Regions from separate parts of the Homo sapiens genome. Here region 1 is linked to region 2. The links are contacts of gene promoters, found by promoter capture Hi-C in blood cells and fetal thymus (Javierre and others, 2016). All regions are on one chromosome and are shown on one strand. The core of a region is centred on a gene start or on the middle of the fragment in contact, and the rest is flanking DNA. Distances in the headings are between cores, read along the strand shown. Region 1 holds the start of HSD11B1 (hydroxysteroid 11-beta dehydrogenase 1). Region 2 holds the start of IRF6 (interferon regulatory factor 6).

The links. Contacts are between HindIII fragments. The CHiCAGO score rates a contact against its expected background, and 5 or more counts as called.
Region 1: a contact is called between a fragment that was not itself captured here and the fragment with the promoter of IRF6 in region 2, in 1 of 17 cell types (neutrophils). The highest score is 6.4, in neutrophils.

Annotation. Positions count from the first base shown.
Region 1 is chr1:209,704,172-209,710,291 of GRCh38, reverse strand. HSD11B1 (hydroxysteroid 11-beta dehydrogenase 1) reads right to left here and starts at 5,446. Exons shown (of 6, transcript NM_005525.4): 1 at 5,262-5,446; 2 at 4,351-4,481; 3 at 3,472-3,583; 4 at 3,164-3,349. The coding sequence starts at 5,349. All of the region lies in intron 1 of HSD11B1-AS1 (HSD11B1 antisense RNA 1), which reads left to right. The HindIII fragment of the contact is 7,813 bases long and covers 1-5,888 here.
Region 2 is chr1:209,804,155-209,810,204 of GRCh38, reverse strand. IRF6 (interferon regulatory factor 6) reads left to right here and starts at 4,063. Exons shown (of 9, transcript NM_006147.4): 1 at 4,063-4,258. RefSeq lists a silencer at 3,798-4,141. The HindIII fragment of the contact is 4,987 bases long and covers 2,980-6,050 here.

The DNA.
Region 1 (6,120 bases), core at 733-3,232, 98 kb after region 2:
GTGATGGGATTCACCAAGCCCAGGAGCCCGAAAATGAAACCAACTTTACTTTTCTAATATTGAACCTAAGATGACCTATTTTGACTAATGTCAGATAAACTTTTTTCCAGATGTTTTCAAATGTTCTCTGCCCACTCCAGTGATTTTTTTTAGTCATATTCAAGTATTAATATTTCTACTTTGGTTTGTTTCACAAATGCTATTTAGGTATTCTCTTTCCATTCTTTCTCCTACCCCACTGTCCCCTGCACGCACTGCCGGATGGAAGGACTTTGTTTTTTGTGATGGACCTTGAATGTGAGAGGGAATGAGTCTTTTGTGTGTGTGTGTGTGTGTGTGTGTGTGTGTGTGTGTTTCACATGTGGGATGGCCTGGAGGGTATACTTTTTTCTAGTCTTATGTGTTTTTTAGCATGGGTGATGTGGGAGAGATTGCTAGTTGTTTATCAATATCAGTGTCTTTTACACAAATAGAACTTCTGATTTTTAGTTGGACACATGTTCCCTTTGAATAAAGATAACAATTGCAGCCAGCTGTGGCAGAAGAAAAGTGTACACCTTCCAGGTGGTATCCTTCTTTTTTCATTTTCTTGAGTTAGAATTCAGACATGCCAATGAGCCATCTTGGACATGCAGGTGTAAACAAGCACTCTAGGAATGGTGGTTCTGAGATAGAAGGCCTCCTGGACAGCCTCATAGGACAGAACTACCATATCAGCCCTGGACTGCCTTTCCAGGGTGTTTTGTGTGAGATAAATAAATTTAGATTTGCTTAAGCCATTGTAAATTCGGGTCTTCGTTACAGTAGCTGAACTTACATCCTAACTAGCAAGTGGTGGAAGGAGAGGAGGCTAATCAATGTAACGGGATGTTACACATACAAGAAACTTGCTCAATAGGTGCCAAGAAAAGGTGGTGAATAGTGGATAGATGTGGACTACAAGGAGGTTCCCAGAAGCAGCAGTATTGTCTCTGTTAATGCTACAGAGGTAACCAAGCCTTTAAGGAACATATTAGAAGTATAGTATTCCCATGTAATGCAATACCCAGAAATGCATTGTGGAGAAAAAACAATTCTTTATCACTGAAACTCAATAAACAACTTAAGGTATTCCCTAGAAGAAATGATTAAAACTCCATCCCAGTACTGTTTGGCTGACCTTAAGATCAACTTGATGTTTAGCATCCCATATTTATAGAGTTTAGATTTTAAAGAGGAAGGATTAATGAACATGTTTACTGACTGATTAAAAGAATACATCATAAAGCAGAGAATATTCTTCAGTTGCGGCAAGACAGCAATGTGTCTGTACTTTGCAAGTTCATAGACAGGTTTCAAGGCAAAAAAGCTGGAATCTTTTGGCTACACAAGCAATAAACACCAAAGATACTCATCCAGCTAGATTTCCTACCTCCCAGAGTTCATGGAAATTACCAAGTGTCATTCAATAAGTGTAGGAGATATGGGGAAACAGAGATTATCAGAATTTCATCACGTCCTTGGGCTCAACAGTAATTCTTAGTCCTTCTGAGCACATTTAGATCATGGGTACATTCTAGAAAGTTACATTCGTCAAAGGTGAAATACATCCTTTGCCTAGAGTGAATGTATTATTTAATCAGCTGAAATCATTAAAGCCACCTACATCATGACTGATGTGAGGATTTTGTCCAATGCCCTGGGATGGATTGGGGATGTGCCCAGCACCCTCCCACTCAGTATGCATCTGGAAGCTCTCCCTTTCTTCCAGCCCAGAGAGAGTCTGTGTCTGGGGAGGGGTGGGGAGTGTGTGTTGTCTGGGAAGCACCGGGATGCATATCAATCACACTGTTTGGCGGGTAGCACAGACACACTGCCCCTTTATCCAATCACTATGCAGGCCGTCCCTGGGCCAGAAAGGAGAACTCTTTACGATACAGATGGTGCTATTAGTTTCAATAAGAATGTTTGTGAAGTGCTTAACAGTTTACAGAGTCCTCTAGGTTATTTGTTTTTATTTTGCCAGGAACAACATTTAGATGGCGGATTTTGATCCTGGTGTTTGCACTTTCCAGCCACATCCTTCTAACTGACTAATCAACAAAGATGTGTGGAACTTGTCTCCTGGATCTATGATAAAAATGGGCCTAGAAATGTCCCAAGCTGGGAACTCACTGGTTTTTTACTGGTGATGGCTTCTGATGCTACCACCATCCAGAACACCAGGGACCTCTCTTGATCCCACAGATATCTTTTCATGACCATTTCTCTGGACACATTTCCTCCCTACCCAGCTGGTTGTTTAAATTGATCTTTTCATGTTAACATGTTCAAATTTTAGAGAATACACCCACTATAGGCAGGTCTGTTCATCTTTTTTTTTTTTCTTGTTGTTCATTTTATTTAGCTTTAGCTTAGCCCACTTATCAGACACCTGTGTGTTGTTAAAACAGTTAACTTCTCAGTTGTACCTTCACATTTACATAACTTCACCAACCTTTTGGTCATGGAGGAAGCAAAGTCCTTTTTATCCATTGTGACTAGGTCTCTCACTTAGGACCAGGACAAGCTGTACCTCCAGCAGCCTCTCAAGTCCCTTCAACCTTCCTTTGTAGAAAACAATTCAGGCTTCCAATAGGCACTCTGAACTACTGCTTTTTCTCTGCTACTTAAAAGAATTTTGTAGCCCATCTACCTTGACCAATCCTTCATTTTTTATGGTGTCACTAGTTTGTAACAGTGTCTCCTTTACTCAGGATGCGTGCCTCTCATTGAGTCCACAAATCACCCCCCTACAAGTCTCTTATCAGTACATCTGCCCATTCATGCATATGAGTAAGCTGTTAATCAGCTTTTGTTTAATATTACTATGAACATTTCAACTTCAAGTTAATATTGTAACTAGGTCTCTCCCTTAGGACCAGGACAGGCTGTACCTCCAGCAGCCCCTCAAGTCCCTTTGACCTTACTTTGTAGAAAACAATTCAGTCTTCCAATGAGCACTCAGAGCTACTGCTTTTTCTCTGTTACTTAAAAGAATTTTGTAGCCCACTTACCTTGACCAATCCCTCATTACTTCTCTGCATGGAAACTGATAAAAATTTATGTCTACTTCAGAGCCTGGCATCATCCCTGGCATTTTTTTTTTTCTTCTACCTTCCACATATGTCCCTGTCCCACTTACCAGCCAGAGAGGAGACGACAACAATGCTTCCATTGCTCTGCTTCAGCATGGGCAAGGCAGCTACAGTCAGGACCACGTAACTGAGGAAGTTGACTTCCATGCTTTTGCGCACATGGTGAATATCATCATGAAAAAGATTCAAAGAAGTGTTGGTGATGTGGTTGAGAATGAGCATGTCTAGTCCTCCTGCAAGAGATGGCTATATTAAGAAATCATCTGGGGTTGATACCTTTCCCATTCTCCTCCCAAAAGCTCTTGGTGACCCCAAGGGCAAAGTTCAGAGGAGGAGGTAAGAGAAACAGCCTCACCCATGAGCTTTCCTGCTTGGGCAACAAATTGCTCTGCGAAGGTCATGTCTTCCATGGTGCCAGCAATGTAGTGTGCTGAGGCTGCTCCAAGCTCCAGGCAGTGGGATACCACCTGCAGTGATACAGCAGAAATGGCATCAGTCTTAGCTGCAGATTTTTGGGGGGTAGTCTCTGAAGTAACGGGGGGCTTAAATGAGAGATTGCTCACAGCCCTGTTTAGGTAAGAAATGGTAAGTATGTTTGTGTGTGTGTTGCCTAATATAACCCTCATGATCATCGTCCTCTGTCTGAAATATTTTCTGGAACTTGGTGGGGTTCAAATGGATAAATCATCCCAGTGCTGGGGTTTAAGTTCATGATTTATGCTCATGGCTTCTGTGAATAGGCATTTCTGAGGGCATTATGAGTGTAGATGCTGGTTACTATGTGGGTAGCTCTAGGTTTGTGAATGTTTGTACATCCTTGGGTTTGTGAGTCCATGAGAGGGCATGTGTCTGGGAGTCTGCATGGGTATGAGGATATGTATTCATAAGCAGGTACTGGGATTTCAGTTTTTGAAAACATCCGTATGTATCTGTAGTTCCATGTGTAAATGTGTGTGACTAGGCATGTCTGTGAGCATATATAACTCAAGGACTCTGTTGCAGAATATATTACACACACACACATGAATGAATGCTTAAATGCATACTTTTATATTCCTGTGGGTTTTTTGGTGTTTGAATCTATATATGAGAGTGCAAAATTAAGTGTCTGTGTGTGTGCATGTGCCTCTGTATATAGATCTGCGATATGCTAGCTTCTGTGTATATGTGAGCATATATAAGAACACATCTGAGCATGTGACGGTACACATATCTGCGAGCATAGAACCCTCACCTTCTGTAGAGTTTCTTTTGACCTCGCTGTCACCACCACATGGGCTCCCATCTTCGCCAGATGATAAGCCATCTCTCTTCCGATCCCTTTGCTGGCCCCTGTGACAATCACTTTCTTTCCTTGGAGCATCTCTGGGGAACCCCAAAAGGAAGTGAGGACCATACCCAAGTTGGCAGCAAAATTCCTTCTCCCTCTCTGGATATAGGCATGCTTATCGCAATTTGTAACTTAAAGGTTATGAGCCCAGATCAGTTTGTCACAAACTCCGTAAATCACTGTGGGAACAGGCCAGGTCTTTCATAAACATGCTCTGAAGTGGGAGGTTTGGGCTGACAGCCTCCCTACTGTCATTTCTAAAAACCTCCATGGAAAGAGATCATAGGATGAAGCCAGAAAAGTCATGGTTCAGCTAAAATGCTGGAGTTCCAGACATTTCTGGACTCTTTCAATTTTGCTCAATTGAAAGTACATTTAACAAGGAATCAAAACACATGTGTTCATAGAAATTCCAGGGATTTTCCCTCACTTCTATGTAGTCATCATCTCCAGTTTTTTTTTTTTTTTTTTTTGCCTCCCACTTATCAGTCTCTTCATAGAGCCCAATTAGCTGCTGAGTTGTGAATTTGGGTATTACTCTCATTTTTGTAGAAGATTTGAAACTGCTTTCCATTAAGGGTGCCAAATAAAGCATGGCCTATTTGGCTAGATTTTGGCTACACGATTACCCTTCCTACACAGTCCCCCCTGTCCACAGCCTGTAGCTGGAGGACACAAAAATACCATCTTAACTCAGGGTTCCCTCATTTTCACCAACTTTGAGGATCAAGAACACATCTTGGTCCTCAGGAACACTCAAGCACCCCTGTGTTTTTTAAACCTATTCCTCCAAAATGAGACGCATGGGTACTTACCTGGTCTGAATTCCTCGTTTGCAGAATAGTAGTAGTAGGCCATGAAGAGCCCCAGAATGGGGAGGAGATATTTTTTCATAAAAGCCATCCGACAGGGAGCTGGCCTGAAGACTCCTGTAGGACACACAGAGAGAACCTACAGAGCTTTCTACAACCTCCTAAGCAGGCAGCAGCCTCTGAATTGTGACATCAGGGACGGGGGAGGCTGGAGTAGTCTCAGGCAGTGCTAGCCAATTTCCCTGTCAGAGCAGCGATTGGCTTTGGGTGGGATCCCATTCGTCCCTGGCAGCCTGTGTGGTGGATTTCATAATGGACAATGTTTACTCCATTTCATTGAGCAAGAGGAGACTTCCAGATGGCCAAGCTCATGACTGTACAGGACTGGATTCCTGAGCATCCCTACCCGAGTCCATCTTACTCTTAACACCATTTACGCCAGGGATCAATGATCTTTCAAAAGTAATTTGTCAAAGACAGAGAGAGAGGAGTGCATGTAGGGCTTCTGGGGGGAAATGTGAGTAATAGCAAAGAGAGCCAAACTCAAGCCAAATCTCACTCTCAGTCCCCCTACCCCCCCACCCAGTGGGAAGCAATTAAAAATAACAGCACAAAACAGCAAAATAAGCTTAAGAAAAAAAATGTGCACATTTTGGGAAAAAATAATGAAAGCAAAGAAGCTCTATAAGCCCCACACTCAAGTTCAATGAAAAAGTATTACAACATCAAAGGAGAAATTGCAAGCCAGCCAGAACCCAGATGGCGGGAAATCCAAGACTGGTTCAAGACTCTAAGGCAAGTGCAATGGATCATACACTTATTATTTTAACAGAGAACAAAGAAGAAATAATGAGTGACAAAA
Region 2 (6,050 bases), core at 2,814-5,313:
GTGAGGGTAGACCTGATGGGCTCCAGAATGCCTTCCAGAAGGAAGGTTGGAGTCTGATTTCCTTTGAAAGCACAGAATTGGATTGTTTAGTGCAATGTCCCTACCTGACTCTTTAGCAACTCCACCAAAGGTGCACAGCTTCTTTGCTATCACCAACTCCAGTAACACTAAACTCTCCACTGTATGGAGCCTTTGGGAGGAGTCCCAGTTGCCACGCTTTCTGCTCTGCCAAGAAGAGAGTGGGATTTGGGTTCATGGTTTTATTGTCACATGTCTGATATTGTAGAGTTTAAAGTCTCTGGGTGGAAAAAGAAACTCTTTCCTACCAAATGAGAGCTGACTGGGAACAGGAGAGGGGAATTCCCTCATTCCCTGTGGCTGTGAATCAGGGCCCCCGTGCTGAAATGTACGTCCCACTACCTGAAACTCAGACTCACTAGTGAGTCAGCAATGCCGCACCTGATTATCAATGGAGGGCAAAATGATGGGAGCATTGCAGGCCCAGGGCATGTTGGGAATGACTGAATCCTGAAGAGGCTCTTTTGAGAATACAGAAGAACTGATTCCTCAAGAGCTTGTGGAAAGACTCACAAGATGTTCTTATTCCCCAGATCAAGCAGATGAGGCGTGTATCAGAATAGAAGACATCAGGGTGGCCTATTGTCAGGGCTTGTTGCCTGCAGAGCCGGGGAGTTCCTCCTGATCTCTACCTTAATTCCACCTGCTTTACCCCCTTTCATTAATTCTTCAGTTGAGTGACATGAGAGTAGGGACTTGGTTTTGTTTATGGCAATATCAACAATATCAACAGTACCTAGATCCATGGGTGATTTTTTTTTTTTTTTTTTTTGAGATGGAGTTTCCCTCTTGTTGCTCAGGCTGGAGTGCAATTGTGCAATCTCGGCTCACCGCAACCTCCACTTCCTGGGTTCAGGCAATTCTCCTGCCTCAGCCTCCCGAGTAGCTGGGATTACAGGCATGCGCCACCAAGCCTGGCTAATTTTGTATTTTTAGTAGAGTTGACCATATTGGTCGGTCCGGTCTCCAGCTCCTGACCTCAGGTGATCTGCCCGCCTCAGCCTCTCAAAGTGCTGGGATTACAGGTGTGAGCGATTGCACCTGGCGATTTTTTTTTTTAAATCGTTAACAGCCAGTGCAGAACAGGTCAGAATAGACTTTGGCTGCGGAGCTGAGCAGGGGTCCAAGTGGATAGAGCCCCGGGTTTGTGTTCTAGTCTTGGTTTGTGGCTAATATGCCATGTGACCTTGAGTAAATCACTTGACCTCGCTGGGCCGCAGTTTTCTCATCTATGAAAAGGGAGAATTTAGACTAGAAGTTGCAATCAGATGCCTACAGGGTCAGGCAATTAAAGTAAATTAGTGAGCTCAATAGAGTGAGTTTGTATTGGCTGTAACGTGTAGACTCCCTCTAAATGGGCAACTGTTGCCAGGTAGAACTGCTGGTAGAGCATCCAGGGCACTTGACTCTTTAAGAGATGCTGAGAATTTTGATGTTTATGTGATACCTCCTGATATTTAAAATACTGTGTGGGTAAAAACTGGCTAAGTCAGTTTTAGTCTTGATCTAGATAGTCCAGAAGAACCCTCCCAGCTTGAGTTTTCTGATTCCAAAATATATGTCTTCTAAAGAAGGTCCTTAAGACATCCCCTTAGTCATGGGAATTTCAGCTGGTGCAAAAGTGAGTGCCTGTGTGTGGGCTCATACTTGTATGCCACTGGGGTTTTGACTCCCCTCAAATGACACTCTCCCAATGGCCTTACCCCTCATCCCTCTCATACACCTGCAGTGGAGCTTGTTTGGTCCCCAGAGCCCAGCCCTGGGCCAGATGGAAGATGCTGTTTGTCTAGTGAGCTCATCAGCAGTAAACAGCTAGCTGTGCTGATGAGCTTGCCCTTCCCCCAGTGAAGGGAAGAGTGGCCACAGGGCAGTGGTTGAGACAGAGGCTGGCTGAGTCAGGCCTTGGGGCCTTGCTGCCTTCCCAGGCCTTTGCTGGCTACATTCCAAAGCTAAATTGGGACTTGGAATCATGCCTACATTATTATCAATCTGGGGCTCTTCAACACACTTGTATGAGTATGCTAGGGCTACCATAACAATGTACCTCAGAGTGGGTGGCTTGAACAACAGAAATTTTTTGTTTCATAGTTCTGGAGTTTAAAAGTCTAAAATCAAGGGTCTGAGGGATGTGAAAAAAAAAAAAAAAAAAAGAGCTCTATTCCAGGTATCTCTCCTTGGGTTGCAGCTAGCTGTCTTCTCTTTATGTCTCTTCATATCACCTTCCCTCTGTGGGTATCTGCCTCTGTGTCCAAATCTCCTCCTTTTATAAGGACACCATTCATATTGGATTCAGGCTCACCCTAATAACCACGTTTTAACTTGATTACCTCCATAAGGATCCTGTCTCCCAATAAGGTCATATTCTGACATCTGGCTGTGGTTGCAGTGGGGGTGGTCAGGACTTCAAAATACAAATACAAATTTTTTTGTATGTGGGTGACAGTTCAACTCATTGTACCACTCCTCCACAGTTTCTCACTCATTACTTTAAACACCAAAACCTAAGTGACCTGCGCATGCCCCATTTCACCTACGACAGCTCAGTGGTTGAGGGTGGGGGATTTTTAAAAGTCTCATTTACTGTTGCACAGCCTCCTGCAAACCGGTCCTCTAGATAGATGAGGAAGGTGAGGGCAATCTCATCAAGCACCTGTTAGGGTACATGCAGGACTTGAATTTCAGGTAATAACAAGGAATGCCTTCTTGTTCTCTGACGCACTGTCTATATGGTATTTTTAATCTTTATGCCAATAATAATTGCAAGTACATATAAAGCACTTGATAAGTGCTAAATATTGTTGCAAGCAGTTTACATGTAGTTATTGAATTCCCACAATACCCCTGAGGTAGGTACTATTACTAACCTCTTTCTACAGATAAGACACCAGGGCCTAAAAAGCTTAAGAAACTTTCCCAAGTCTGTAGTAACTGATGGAGTTGGGGTCTAAACCCCAATAGTTGGCTCCAGAGGCTATGCTTTTACTCATTACACGATAGTGATCAGAGGAAGCAGGAACTCCAGTCTGGGCAACATAGTCAGACCCTGTCTCTAAAAAAAAAAAAAAAAAATTAGCCGGGCATGGTGACCCATGCCTATATTTCCAGTTACTTGGGAGGGTGAGGTGGGATAATTGCTTGAGCCCAGGAGGTTGAGCTATGATTGTGCCACTGCATTCTAGCCTGGATGACAGAGCCAGACCCTGCCTAAAAAAAAAAAAAAAAAAAAAAAAAGGAATTGAACTGGGTGCCAGTGCCTGTAATCCCAGCACTTTGCGAGGCTGAGGCGGATCCCTTGAGCCCAGGTGTTGCAGACCAGACTGTGTAACTTAATAGCAAGACCCCATCTCCAAAAAAAAAAAAAAAAAAAAAGGAAGAAAAAAGAAAGAGAAAAAAGCAAACAACAACAAAAAAGAAGGAAGGAATTATTATTCTCATTGAAGAGATGAGGAAACTGAAACCAAGAAGCCAAGAAGCTAAGTAACTTACCCAGGGTCACACGGGTAAGAGGCAGAGTAAAGGTAGAATTCTAGTCCTGAAAGCCTATGGCTTCTCCCAGACAGGACCAAGTGTCCTGGTTCTCTTCTTCATGTGCAACTCCACTTACACAGGCCCACGAGTAGTAGGGCCAACCCAGAATCTCAAAACCCTTATTTGTGCTTAACTGTCTGCATACTGCAGGGTAATTATGGGCCGTGAAGGAGGGAGGCACCCTCTCGACTTAGATCTGAACTCCCAGTCGCTTCCAGTTCCCAGGACCACCAGCCCTGAGCCGTAAGGCTAGGCCTGAATCTGGGACTTTCTTAGCCGGAGTTAGAAGCGGAGGAGTAGGGTGGGACGCTGGACGGACGCCGCTGGGCCGGGCAGCCCAGAAACGCGGAGTGTCATATTTCTTGCAACTCGCCAATCCCGAACGCCGGGGGGCGTGGCCACACCTGGGAGGCGTGGCCGGGCGGATGCGAAGGCTGCGGCGTCCTGGGGCGAGGCGCTGACGTGAGCTCGGCGCACCTGGGCTGGGCAGGTAAGGGCTGGTGCGGGACGGGGAGAGGAACCTGCAGTCCCTACTTGGGTAGAGCCAGGCGCCCCTTGGCTAAGACGTCGAGGAGCGTGGTAGCGACGGGTGATCTTCGCTGCGGACTTGGTTCGGAGGGACGTCCGCTTCTGGTGGACAGATTGAGCAAAGGTGGGTACGCCAACTTCTGGGGACCAGCTTGAGGGAGGAGAGGCTCCCCCGTGGGTGGGGTAGGACCCATCCCCGGAGTTTGTAGGGGGTGAGAGAACTTGCTTGGGGGCATCTGTGTGTTTGGGGTGGGTACCCACTGGGGCTGGGTGCCTGTCGCCCTTTTCCAGATAGCTTTGGGGCGGCCTCAGTTCTGTAGCGCTAGGCCCCTCTCGAATCTACACTTGTGTCTACTCTCCCTACCCCCACCGCCGAAGCGGAGGGCACTGCTCTCGGCCGTCAACAACCCCACTATCCGGTAGAGCTAAAGCACCGCGCCCCCTTCAGTCTTACCAACTTGCGGCTGGCCCCTGTGTCCCAGAGAGGGGACTTCCCAGGTCCGCAGGTCCTTGATCCTAGTGGGCGTTTTGGGAAACTGGAGTGAGGGTGGCCAGGAGCTTTGGAGCATTGGCGGTTTGTCTTCCCTCCCTGAGTCTGTTTGGCACAGTTAGGCCCTTCGCCCTGGGCCTGGGAGACAACCTTGGATTTCCAAGGAGCGGAGCTAGGTGCTGGGGAGGGTGGCGCTGGGGTGTGGTTGCTCTGGGGGTGGGCCCTCTTTGCCCGAAGGGGCTGGAGGGTGGTGTGGAGAATGGGGAAAGTCTCCCAGGCCTGACTTGGAAAGGAGGCCTGAGGTGTCACTCTTTACAGGGAGCCTGCTTTGTGGTAAAGGGGTCATCCTGTTCCAACCTGTTCTCTTGGTGGATGTCAAGAGTGGAAGTCAGGGAAAAGAGATGGATAGAGAGAGGAAGGCGCTTGGGTGGGATTGGTGAAAGCTGGTGTTGACCCAGGAGTGTGGTTTAGGATGAGACGTGTGTATGATGTATGACAGTGGCACTCAATACCTTGTAACTCCCATTCGCCATCCCCCAGCTTCCATCCAGCAGAAGGGAAGGGTGTGGGCATTTTGACTAGAGGCCTGCAGTTTACCCCTAAGCAGGGCTAAACAGGGAAGCCTGAGGAACGGAACTTAGACGATGGCATTTCATTTCTTTCAGGAGAAAGGGAAGAGCTGGGACTGCTAAGAATTGTCTGCGAGAAATGGCGTGTGTTTTAACCTGAGCAAAACCACTGACGGCCAAATCTCGGCTTTTGTGTGGCAGTGCCCCTGGAAACTAGTCTGGGGAGGAGCTATGGAGGTGGCAATGAGGGTGTTTATGGAGGACCTGCTCCCTAGAATAGGGGTATGGGAGAGGACAGTTATGCTCGGAGGAGGCTGAAAGTGTCCCTCCTCTATGCTCACTGTGAGGGGAATAGATAGGTTAGCATCATTGTCCTTTGGCTGTTTAAGTACCTGTTAGAGACACAGGCCTTACATTTTGCTGTGATGGCAGCTAGAGATACCAAGATGAGTTCAACTAGGCTAAGGTGGTTCTTCAGGCGTTGGGATTTGGGTGGCAAGAGTGTTTAGAAAGAGAACTCTGATTTAGGTGTGTTTGAGAGTGGATGTTATGCAGTCTCCACCTCAATCACTTTATTGGCCCTCTATGCTGCTGGGATCTTTGTTGATGTTTTTAGTTTACTTTCTTGGTGCGCAGAAGATGAGAGGGACATGGAAGACAAGGTGCAGTGGCAGGGTTTGGTACAGAACACTGTGACTTAGGAAATAAAGCACCTCAGCCCAGATGTAAAATGGGGATAGTAATATCACATTCAGGTTTATGAGGATGAAATCAGACATGTTAGGTAAAGGTTCATGTAAAAATTGTAAAGCCTACACAGATACAAAGGATTGTTGTTACCATCCTTCATAAGAAAT